2 separate regions of the Homo sapiens genome follow, and region 1 is linked to region 2. Evidence: promoter capture Hi-C in 16 types of primary human blood cells and fetal thymus (Javierre and others, 2016). All regions are on one chromosome and are shown on one strand. Each heading gives the region's core, a stretch centred on a gene start or on the middle of the fragment in contact. The rest is flanking DNA. Distances are from core to core; before and after follow the strand shown. Region 1 holds the start of NAA25 (N-alpha-acetyltransferase 25, NatB auxiliary subunit). Region 2 holds the start of FAM216A (family with sequence similarity 216 member A).

Region 1 (5,220 bases), core at 696-3,195, 1.6 Mb before region 2:
TGCCTAAAACAAGAGTGTGTCAAATAATAGGCACTCAATAACTCAGTGTTGTACGAATAAATCTATCTGTAAAAAGAGAGGTAATAATAAGATCTACCTCCCAGGGAAATACGATGACAGTTATGAAAATTAAATGAGAGAATAAATGTAAAGACCTTGCATTTAAATACTCTAGGCAGATACCGAGTAAGTATTCATCTAGGATGCTTCTTTGTTGGCTGAGTCCTGGGAGAAGGGTGTGTGGCAGGCCAGGTCTCACTAACACAGGCCTCCATAACAACTGTTTCAGTACTAACTGAGTGGTTAAGTTACATATTAAAAGCTAAAAAAAAAAAGCCAGTGCCCTTATACAAAGGATGGAATGTAACAAAAGCCCACCAAGAGTTTTGCCTAGGCCTTTCCTTGGCCTTAAAGCATGACAAAATAACGAAAGAATTCCTAACAGGACCCATTTAGGATTAAACAAATTTTATTGGGGGTCTGAAGTAACTCCCCAAACCTCCGTGATTTAGTAGGAGGCAAGATAAGGATAATCACCCCAGCACCTATTGCCATTTAGATTAAGTAAATTTACTGAGGCTTCAAAGGAAAGTCTTCAGGACTCAAACCTTAGTTATAGACTAAAGTGAGTTAATCAATTATTATTATTATTATTTTTTTTTTTTTGAGACGGAGCCTCCCTCGCCCAGGCTGGAGTGCAGTGCCGGGATCTCGGCTCACTGCAAGCTCCGCCTTCCGGGTTCACGCCATTCTCCTGCCTCAGCCTCCCTAGTAGCTGGGACTACAGGCGCCTGTCACTGCGCCCAGCTAATTTTTTGTATTTTTAGTAGAGATGGGGTTTCACCGTGGTCTCGATCTCCTGACCTCGTGATCCGCCCGCCTTGGCCTCCCAAAGTGCTGGGATTACAGGCATGAGCCACCGCGCCCGGCGAGTTAATCACTTATGTCTTTAGATGAATGCACATTTACACGTAGACATATAGCTTAGAAGGTATATAAGCTCTGGAAAGCTTTGTAATTTTAAGTTGGTCTGGTGATAATTTCCAGGCCTTCTCCCTGTAACTGGTTGCAGAAATAAAAACTCGCTTCCTCTCCAGTTCATCTGCATCTCCTTACTGAACCAGGAGAAACAGCAGCCTGACGCTCAGTTTGGTCCAGGAACAGGTGGTGGAGGGCTCTCGAACTTTTTTCTTTTTTTTTTTTTTTTTTTGAGATGGAGTCTCGCTCTGTCGCCCAGGCTGGGGTGCAGTGGCGCGATCTCGGCTTACTGCAAGCTCCGCCTCCTGGGTTCACGCCATTCTCCTGCCTCAGCCTCATGAGTAGCTGGGACTACAGGCGCCCGCCACTACGCCCCGCTAACTTTTTTTGTATTTTTAGTAGAGATGGGGTTTCACCGTGTTAGCCAGGATGGTCTCGATCTCCTGACCTTGTGATCCGCCCGCCTCGGCCTCCCAAAGTGCTGGGATTACAGGCTGAGCCACAGCGCCCGGCTCTCTCGAACTTTTTTGGCAGATTTTTGCTGTTGATCAGCCCCGCTTCCCCAACTTTCCCCTGGGTCTCTCTCCCCCGGGAGTTTCTGGTTCCTCTGCGATTAATCACAGCCAAGTCTAGCTGGTTCTTCAGGACGGAGAATAAATAGGATAAACAGGAGCAGCCGAACCCTAACTTTGAGAGCTTTCTCCCCTCCTCTCCTAACTTCCCAGTCAGTGACTCGGAAGACTTTAACAGCAACAGCTGCCTCCTCTTGCCAGCTTGATCCCACCTGCTAAGTGAAGGAACAGCGTTTAAAGAGGTGGCAATCGGCAAGGGTGGATGCTTCCCTTTCCGCGCAGGCGCGTTCAGTCGCAGCACCGCGACTATCGTGATAGACAAGCGAGATCGACGCTGGCCCTTTAATAGCCCTTTCCCGGGGTCCTGCCCCGCGCGTGCGCACTGTGGTTCTGCGCTTGTCATCATGGCGACGCGGGGCCATGTGCAGGACCCTAACGACAGGCGCCTCCGGCCCATTTACGGTGAGTGTCTTGGACCAGCCCGCTCGCCAGCCCGACGCGCCGAGGGCTGCCGAGGCTGGGGCGAAAGCCCAGGAGGGGTGCTGAGGGCCGGCGCGCGGGCCGGGCAGGCGCAGGGGGGCGGGCCGCGCGGGCCACTAGGCCGCAGCCGCGGGCCTCGCGTAGGCGCCGGCCCAACCTTCCTCAGCCTTGGGGTGGTAGTGGCGCGGTCTGGGCAGCAGCTGGTCGGCAGAGCTGGCCTGCTTGGCAGGCCCCGTGGGACGCGTGGTTCTGCAGACACCTGCGCTACCCGCAGGCTGCATCGTTACCGCCGCTCCTAGGGAGACCGGAGATCTCCCCGAAGGTGGAAGCCGGCTCCGGCACGAGGGTGGGACGCCCTGCCTGAGGGAAGATTCCCTACCAGAGATTTTTTTTTATTTACGGGAATTGGGCCTAGAGGGTTGTCTGACTAGGTGGGCTTCGGTGCATAGGAGAAACTGAGGTCCGGAGTGGGGAAGGGGCTGACGCAAGGTCACCCAGATCGAGTCAGGAGCAGGCCCGAGATTCCAGGCTCCCAATCCAGAGCTGTTGGGTGGAGAAGCAGCTACTCTGGTCACACGTGGGAGGCGGGGGGAGGGGGTCTTGGGCCTAAAATAGCGGTGAAGAGATTGTGATAGCTCGTGTCAGAGGGGCATGCAGAGCTACTGGAGGGCTTCTCCTTTCTGCAGCTTCTCTGTGGTTTTCTCTGCAGCTTTCCTTCCCTGTGCTAAGCAGATCCCTCTCCACAACTCTTACCTCAACCCGCAGACTTGAAGACCTTGATGTCATCTCATCCATTTACCCTGGTAGTGAAAAATCACAGATTTTGAGTTTGGGAGAAACCCTTTTCCAATAACCGAAATGTGTAATTGGATTGGTCCTTTTTGCATTTCCTTTCCTCTTAGATGGTTTTATGGTCTTGGTCTATCTCACTTAATGGTGAGGAAGCTTCAAGGTCAGTGGTTTTTACAAAAGTAGACATCGTATTTATAGACCTCATGTGGATGTTACTAAATTGGAGGCTTCTCTCCAAGGTGGGAATCGTTTTGGGAGCGGGGGGCGGTGGTTAACTTTGTTTCTGGCCACAGTTAGTCCGGCTTTTATTTCATAATTTGTGTGATTTTTTTTTTTACTCTCACATCTCATTTGATTTTAGCAACAATCCTATAGCTAAGGTTTATAGATGACTCATTATGACAGTCACTGGCCTTGGCCTTTTATATGGGTTATCTAATATAATCTTCACCCATTCTCAAGAGGTGGCTACTGTTTTTTCCTGCCCCTGAACCCTTTAACAACAACAACAACAAAAAAAAAAACAGATGAGGAAACTGAGGCTTTATTGTTGTTGTGTAATTTGTCTAAGGCCACTCAGTTAGTATTTCTTGGAGCTAGAATTTGAACCCCTGTGGACTGTTTCAGGCTCACCTTTTTTTTCTTTTGAGATGAGTCTCACTCTGTCGTCCAGGTTGGAGTACAGTGGCACAATCTCAGTTCACTGCACCCTCTGCCTCCCAGGTTCAAGCGATTCTCCTGCCTCAGCCTCCTGAGTAGCTGAGATTACAGTTGCACGCCACCAGGCCCAGCGAACTTCCATGTTTTTAGTAGAGACAGGAGTTTACCATGTTAGCCAGGCTGGACTTGAACTCTTGACCTACTCAGCCTCCCAAAGTGCTGGGATTATAGGTGTGAGCCACCATGCCTGGCTCCAGGCTCACCTTTTTTTTTTTTTTTTTTTTTTTTTTGGAGACAGTCTCATTCTGTCATCCAGGCTAGAGTGCAGTTGCACAATCACAGTGCACTGCAACCAGCCTCCGCCTCCTGGGTTCAAGTGATTCTCCTGCCTCAGTCTCCTGAGTAGCTGGGATTACAGGTGCCCGCCACCATGCCGGCTAATTTTTGTATATATTGTAGAGAATGGGTTTCGTCATGTTGCCCAGTCTAGTCTAAAACTCCTGAGCTCAAGCAGTCCTGCCTCAGCCTCCCAGAGTGCTGGGATTACAGGTGTGAGCCACTGTGCCTGGCCCAGGCTCACCTTCTTAACCACTGTGCTAGAAACTACCTCACTTTGAGCTGAAGACACTGATTTGCCTGAGGTCACACAGATGGTAAGTGGCAGAGAAAGGACTCTGATTTCCTATTTCCCCGGGGCTGCATATTCTCATGCCCTTGCCCTCCAGTGTATATTTTCAGAGGGCAGAGATATATATACAAGGTGGGTGATGGAAGGTGAGAACTGAATCCAGGGTTCATAGTTTGTGACTCATTACAGCTTTGTGCAGCAGCTGCCTGCAGACTTTTTTTTTTTTAAACTAAAAACACTCAATACTTTCAAGAATAATTTGATTTTTAAAATTGTTCTTGAGGACCAAAGAGAATTTCTTTGGTCCCATAGTTATTTAGAATTAATAGTGTTTTGACTGTCTAATGGGAAACACCATGTCCATTTCACATCACTAAACATCAGGATATATTAACAAGTTATATTCTCAAAACTGAAGTCAGAATTATGTAGCTTTTGTAACATGTACATGGGAAGAGGATTAGAAGAGGCTTTCTTCAGTAATTCTAAGGCGATTAGTATAAACTGGCAGGACTAGGAAAAGAACGGTACAGACTGTCCGTGAATTCAGCACTTAAGCACATTTGACTTTTGAACTCCACACTTTTGTTGTTTAAATACATTACTACCCCCAAACAACCATGGTTCCTTGAATTCAGACATTCTGACAAATGAACAAACTCATCTATGGTGGTACTTGCCCACCAGCCAAAAATTCAACAACTATCAGCATTAATTAGTGTTTACTGGTGGGCTGACTGCCCTATTAGGTAGGTAAGATTATTGTGATCAAACTGAAGCCTAGAGATTAACTTGCTCAAGGTTGTAGCTACCAAGTTGTAGAGCTGGGATTTGAACATAGACATTCTCACTGAGAGCTCAGCTCTTCACCAAGTTCAGATTCAGTAGCATCACTGTCTTTGTACAACAGTATTTGTACTGCCAAGGTTTCAGGATTTATTTTACAATTGTGTTGGAAACCTTGCTTGGGGCCTCAGCTCTTGCTGGAATTCATTGAGGGTATATGTGGACAGGGCTATGTGGTGATAAATTGTGGTGGGTTGAAATTTTACTGGTGGTGTCTAGGGTTGGAATAGCTTTTCTGTGTGCATAGATTTGAAACATCTTCCC
Region 2 (5,129 bases), core at 74-2,573:
GAGATGGCACCACTGCACTCCAGCCTGGGCAACAGAACGAGACTCTGTCTCAAAAAAAAAAAAACAAAAAGGATGGCCATGGGTGCAACAGGGGCCCTGACTGCGGGTTGTACTGAACGGCAAACATATCGCAGTTCTTGCTTTTAGGGAATAAAGTAGGGAGAGGAAGAGGAGGTAGAGTCTCCAGCAGTGACTTCAACAGCTCGCTGTCTTCACTATCTAGGAAATAGGTGTAAAAACCTGCTCAAAACGAAATAGATTTGTGAAAAAAGGAACTTCAGTGTGAAGAAAATGTCAAGATCAAGGCACCTCGGATATTCAGTCATTGGTCTCATTGGCGATTAGAAATCCTCGTTTGAGGTCGGGCGCAATGGTTCACCCCGTAATCCCAGCAATTTGGGAGGCCGAGGCGGGCGGCTCACTTGAGGTCAGGGGTTCGACACAAGCCTAGCCAACATGGTGAAACCACCTCTCTACTAAAAATACAAAAATTAGCCGGGCGTGGTGGCAGGCGCCTGTAATCCCAGCTACTCGGGAGGCTGAGGCAGGAGAATCACTTGAACCTGGGAGGCTGAGGTTGCAGTGAGCTGAGATCGCACCACCGCATTCCAGCCTAGGCAACAGAGCGAGACTGTCTCGCTCTCAAAAAACAAGAAAGAAAAGAAAAAAAAAGAAAAAGAAATCCCCGTTTGACAGGAAGGTGGCTCATGTCACTAGAGGGAAGGAACTGGTTTATGGGCCTGGATGCCCCCAGTTGAACCGGGGGACATCTTCCTCCTCTGTCCCTCCCGCCTCGCCTTTCGGTGGACACACAGTCCTGTGCCAGACAGCAAACGTCCCAGCAGGGCTCGCAGCGCCCCCTCGGGGCAGAGAGATGCACGCGGGCGACTGTCGCAGTCACCTCGTGGCCACTGCACCAAACGCTCCTCCGAAGCTTCCCTCAGAGACCCTCCCTCAACCGCGAGGCAGTCCTCCCCTCTGCCCTCTGTCCACAACAAAACTGCTCCCCGCCTCTCACTTGAGGGCACCGGGGCCAGCCCCCGAGACGAGAGGTCGGCCGCAGCCCTCCTCCACGGGGCTCACGACCCGGGGGCCTCACGACCCGGGGGCCCCATGCTGCCACCCTTACCCCGGGGCCCCCAACCTCACCCGCCGCCGCCACCCTCGGTCCCGGCCACAGCGGGCGGCTCTGCAGAAGAGCTACGCTCCGTCCAGTCGGACCCCGGACCCTGGCCGGGCATCTCCGCGGCGCCGAGACCGCGAGCCGTGTGCGGGAGCAGCTGTCCCAGCATCCCTCCCCCGACAGCACGCGTGCGTCAGGCTGCTGGTATTCCGGAGAGGCGGCTCGGATGCTGGCTTCTCGCCCCTCCGAAGCCGTTCGGACACTGCCCGAACAGCTTCGGGAGAGCGGGGCGGGCAGATCCGCGACCCCGGAGTTACGGTGGGGGAGGGGCAGGAGCGCTGCGGTCGCTGAGCGTTTGCACGTTTGCACCTCTCTGTGGAAGCAGTGCGTCACAGGAGGGAAATATACATGCTCCCCAAAACAAGAGGTGCCTTCCACTTCAGTATTCCAGATCCTCAGCACATTTGCAAATCGCGAGGGTCACCATACAGGTCAAACGTCTGCACGCAAACCACGGACCGAAGCACGTGGCGCAAGGATGCGGAGCTTTATCTGTTGTCCGTTATTACTCAGGTATCCAAGCTTAGACAGCATCCCAACGGCCGATTTCCATCAACTACTTTTGCGCACGCGCAAATCCTCTCCCTCGCCCCTCCCCTTTTTTCTCAGGACGCGTTTCTCACGGGATTTGGCCCGCGGGCTGCCCCGTAGTAGGAGGTGTGGTAGAACTGGAGGCGTAGAAAGAATGTGGATTGCGATTGGTTCGCACTTCACTTTCCCGGAGCTCAGTGGGCGTCGCGCGAAGGCTAAGGGAGTGTGGCGGGCGGCTCCGGGAGCCAACATGCCTCGGTATGCGCAGCTGGTCATGGGCCCCGCGGGCAGCGGGAAGGTGAGGATCTGCGGGGACAAGGAGAGAAAAGTAGGAGTTCGTGGAAGGCGGGAGATTGGGTCCTGAGGGAGTGAGCCGGCGGGTGTGTGTACTGGGAACCCTGAGACCCCACGCAACTCATTTCTGCTGTCTGGCTTCACGTTCTTTTTTGTTGTTGTTTTGAAAGGGAAATAATGGTAGTTGTTAATATTTATTGTATACTTAAGCCCCAGGCAGCAGATGAAACGCCTCGCTTATTTCTACAACAACCCTGTGAGAGAGATCTCATTTTTCTCATTTTACAGAAAACGAGATACAGAAAGGTTAATTAAGTTCTTTGCCCCGCAAAAAAATATAAATCCAGTTTTGTCTCAACTCCAGAATCCGGCCCTGTCTCGCTCCCAGGAGGGTAAAGTGGGGTCTCATTAATTACTGTTTCTCAGAACTTGGGACATGGACTTTTGGTATTTAAGGTGCTTTTAGGTGGTAGGTGGTACATGGACCCCACATTAAGGAGCATCAGATAATGTGTTAGGGAAATTGTTCCCTTTTCATTTCTCTTTCAGTTCTCAACTTCGCATTTAGGAGAAGTTGTGCTCGGTGCTAGTGTGTATCTTCAGCACTTCTTTAATCCCCAGGTCTTTTCAGAGAGCAGTTCTTAGTCTCAGAGCTTTTAATAGGCACCTGTATTTAGCTAAAAATAGAACATTTAAAGATTTTATATAATTTTATGTCTAATTTCACGTTATGTCAAATATAAGTGGTTTTCAGTTTACAGTAGGGATAAAATTTTTTCTTGTAAACAAATATTAAGGGAATGTTAGGAACATTCAAATACAGTGAGAATGGTGAAGATATGGATCAAATAACATATGTGTGGGAAACATAGCCAGGCGTGGTGGCTCACGTCTGTAATCCTATCACTTTGGGAGATGGAGGTGGACGGATCGCCTGAGCCCAGGAGTTTGGGACCAGCCTTGGCAACACGGCGAAACTCTGTCTCTACAAAAAAATGCAAAAATTAGCCAGGCCTGGTGGCAGGTACCTCTAGTCCCAGCTTCTCGGGAAGCTGAAGTGGGAGGATTACCTGAACCCAGGAGGTTGAGGCTGTGGTGAGTGGTGATCGTGCCACTGCACTCCAGCCTGGGTGACAGAGGTACTGTCGCAAAAAAAAAAAAGAAGAAGTGTGGAAACACTAGAGTCTGTGGAGGTGTTGTGTGGCCTCAGTCTTTAACAAACACATTGTTCTAAGCTGTTGACTTATTCTGGGTAAAAACATGTACATGTAACTAAGATACCTATGGCCTTTAACTTACCCAGAGTCTGTAGTCTTTTGGGGAAGACAAATAGATGACCTGTCAATTAAGATACAGTGTGATGTGGCCAGGTGTGGTGGCTTAAGCCTGTAATCCTCGCACTTTGGGAGGCTGAGGCCAGCAGATCACTTGAGCCCAGGAGTTCAGGGTCAGCCTGGGCACCATGGTGAAGCCCTGTCTCTACCAAAAATACAAAAATTAGCTGGGCATGGTGGCGAGAGCCTATAGTCCCACCTACTCGGGGGGCTAAGGCTGGAGAATCGCTTGAGCCTGGGTCAAAGCTGCAGTGAGCTATGATGGTGCCACTGCACTCCAGCCTGGGTGACAGTGAGACCCTTTGCAAAAAAAAAAAAGATACAGTGTGTGATGTATGGAGAGGGCATTCCAGACAGAGACAACAGTATGTGTAAAGGCACTGAGAGGACAGCATGATGGATGTTTTTTCTATAGTCTATTTTAATTTTTGGGCTGATTGTATTAAACAAGTATCTTTATAAGCTTTTGATGCTTACTATCAGAAACATTCCTTGAGTACGTTCTTTATCCCAGGCACTGTTTTGGGCCCTGGGGGTTGTATGGGGAAAAAAACATGCACACACAAAATCCGTGCCCTTGTGGAGCTTATCTTTAAACATAATAAGTCAATTAGAAACAATTATCAAGTATTTATTATGTACTAGGTATTGCGCTAGTCCCTGTGCTTGGGAAACTGAATAAGACACATCTCTGCCTTTAAACAGAGTATGACACAGACAAGTAGCCTAGAGACTTTTTTTTTTTTTTGAGCCAGGAGTCTTGTTCTGTCATCCAGGCTAGAGTGCAGTGGTGTGATCTCAGCTCACTGCGACCTCTGCCTCCCGGGTTCAAGCGATTCTCCTGCCTCAGCCTCCTGAGTATCTGAGATTACAGGCATACGCCACCACGCCCAGCTAATTTTTGTATTTTTAGTAGAGACGAGGTTTCACCATGTCGGCCAGGCTGGTCTCCAACTCCTGACCTCAGGTGATCCGTCGACCTCAGCCTCCCAAAGTACTGGGATTACAGGTGTGAGCCACTGCACCCAGCCCGAGATGTTAACATAGTACGGTAACAACTACATAATGGATAAAGAATTATCTAAACCAAAAGTTACAAACTGATAGCCACCTCCAGACTATTTATTGATCTTGGCGTTCTTTCATCTTGGAATGCTCTTCCCCTTAGGTTGGCAAACTCCTTCTCATATACTCATATCTCCCCTACTCAGAGACATCATCCCTGACCATCCTACCTAAAGCTTTGTTTGCACTGTACAAGTCCTGGTAGAGACACTGTGTTAGGTGTTACACTATGTAACCAGAACTCTTCCCTTTAAATACCGCTTGTCACATTTAGAACAGTAAGGAGCCTTAGTGATTATGGAGGACATCCCAGTTAGAGACACGAAAATTGAAGGGCAGAGTGGAGAAGTAAATTCCCCAGAGGTACCCATGAGTCTAAGTCAGGTTTGAATCTGCAGCCCAGTCAGGTATCTTTTTCCCTTGTTGTCAGTCAGCCTCTTGGTTGATGAAGGCATAGTTTTGACCTTAGTGGATAGTATTCCAGAGTATGGAAGGTAGCACTACACTACCTGTTGCTTTAACCTCTCATGCCTTGTGACATTACAGAGCACCTACTGTGCCACCATGGTCCAGCACTGTGAAGCCCTCAACCGGTCTGTCCAAGTTGTAAACCTGGATCCAGCAGCAGAACACTTCAACTACTCCGTGATGGCTGGTAAGTCCTGAGCAAAGGCTCCCCCCACCTTCAGGAACAGTAAGGGCTGGGGAGGCAGTGAGTACTA

Evidence for each region. Contacts are between HindIII fragments. The CHiCAGO score rates a contact against its expected background, and 5 or more counts as called.
Region 1: the fragment with the promoter of NAA25 here is called in contact with the fragment with the promoter of FAM216A in region 2 in 1 of 17 cell types (fetal thymus); the score reaches 5.6 in fetal thymus.

What each region holds. Positions count from the first base shown.
Region 1 is chr12:112,105,508-112,110,727 of GRCh38, reverse strand. It overlaps NAA25 (N-alpha-acetyltransferase 25, NatB auxiliary subunit), which reads left to right and starts at 1,945. Exons shown (of 24, transcript NM_024953.4): 1 at 1,945-2,012. The coding sequence starts at 1,955. RefSeq lists silencers at 1,996-2,075, 2,096-2,175 and an enhancer at 3,776-4,277. The HindIII fragment of the contact is 1,965 bases long and covers 1,013-2,977 here.
Region 2 is chr12:110,465,039-110,470,167 of GRCh38, reverse strand. It overlaps FAM216A (family with sequence similarity 216 member A), which reads right to left and starts at 1,323. Exons shown (of 7, transcript NM_013300.3): 1 at 1,150-1,323. The coding sequence starts at 1,292. It overlaps GPN3 (GPN-loop GTPase 3), which reads left to right and starts at 1,911. Exons shown (of 8, transcript NM_016301.4): 1 at 1,911-2,012; 2 at 4,954-5,062. The coding sequence starts at 1,965. RefSeq lists enhancers at 580-749, 1,670-1,799 and a silencer at 950-1,259. The HindIII fragment of the contact is 771 bases long and covers 937-1,707 here.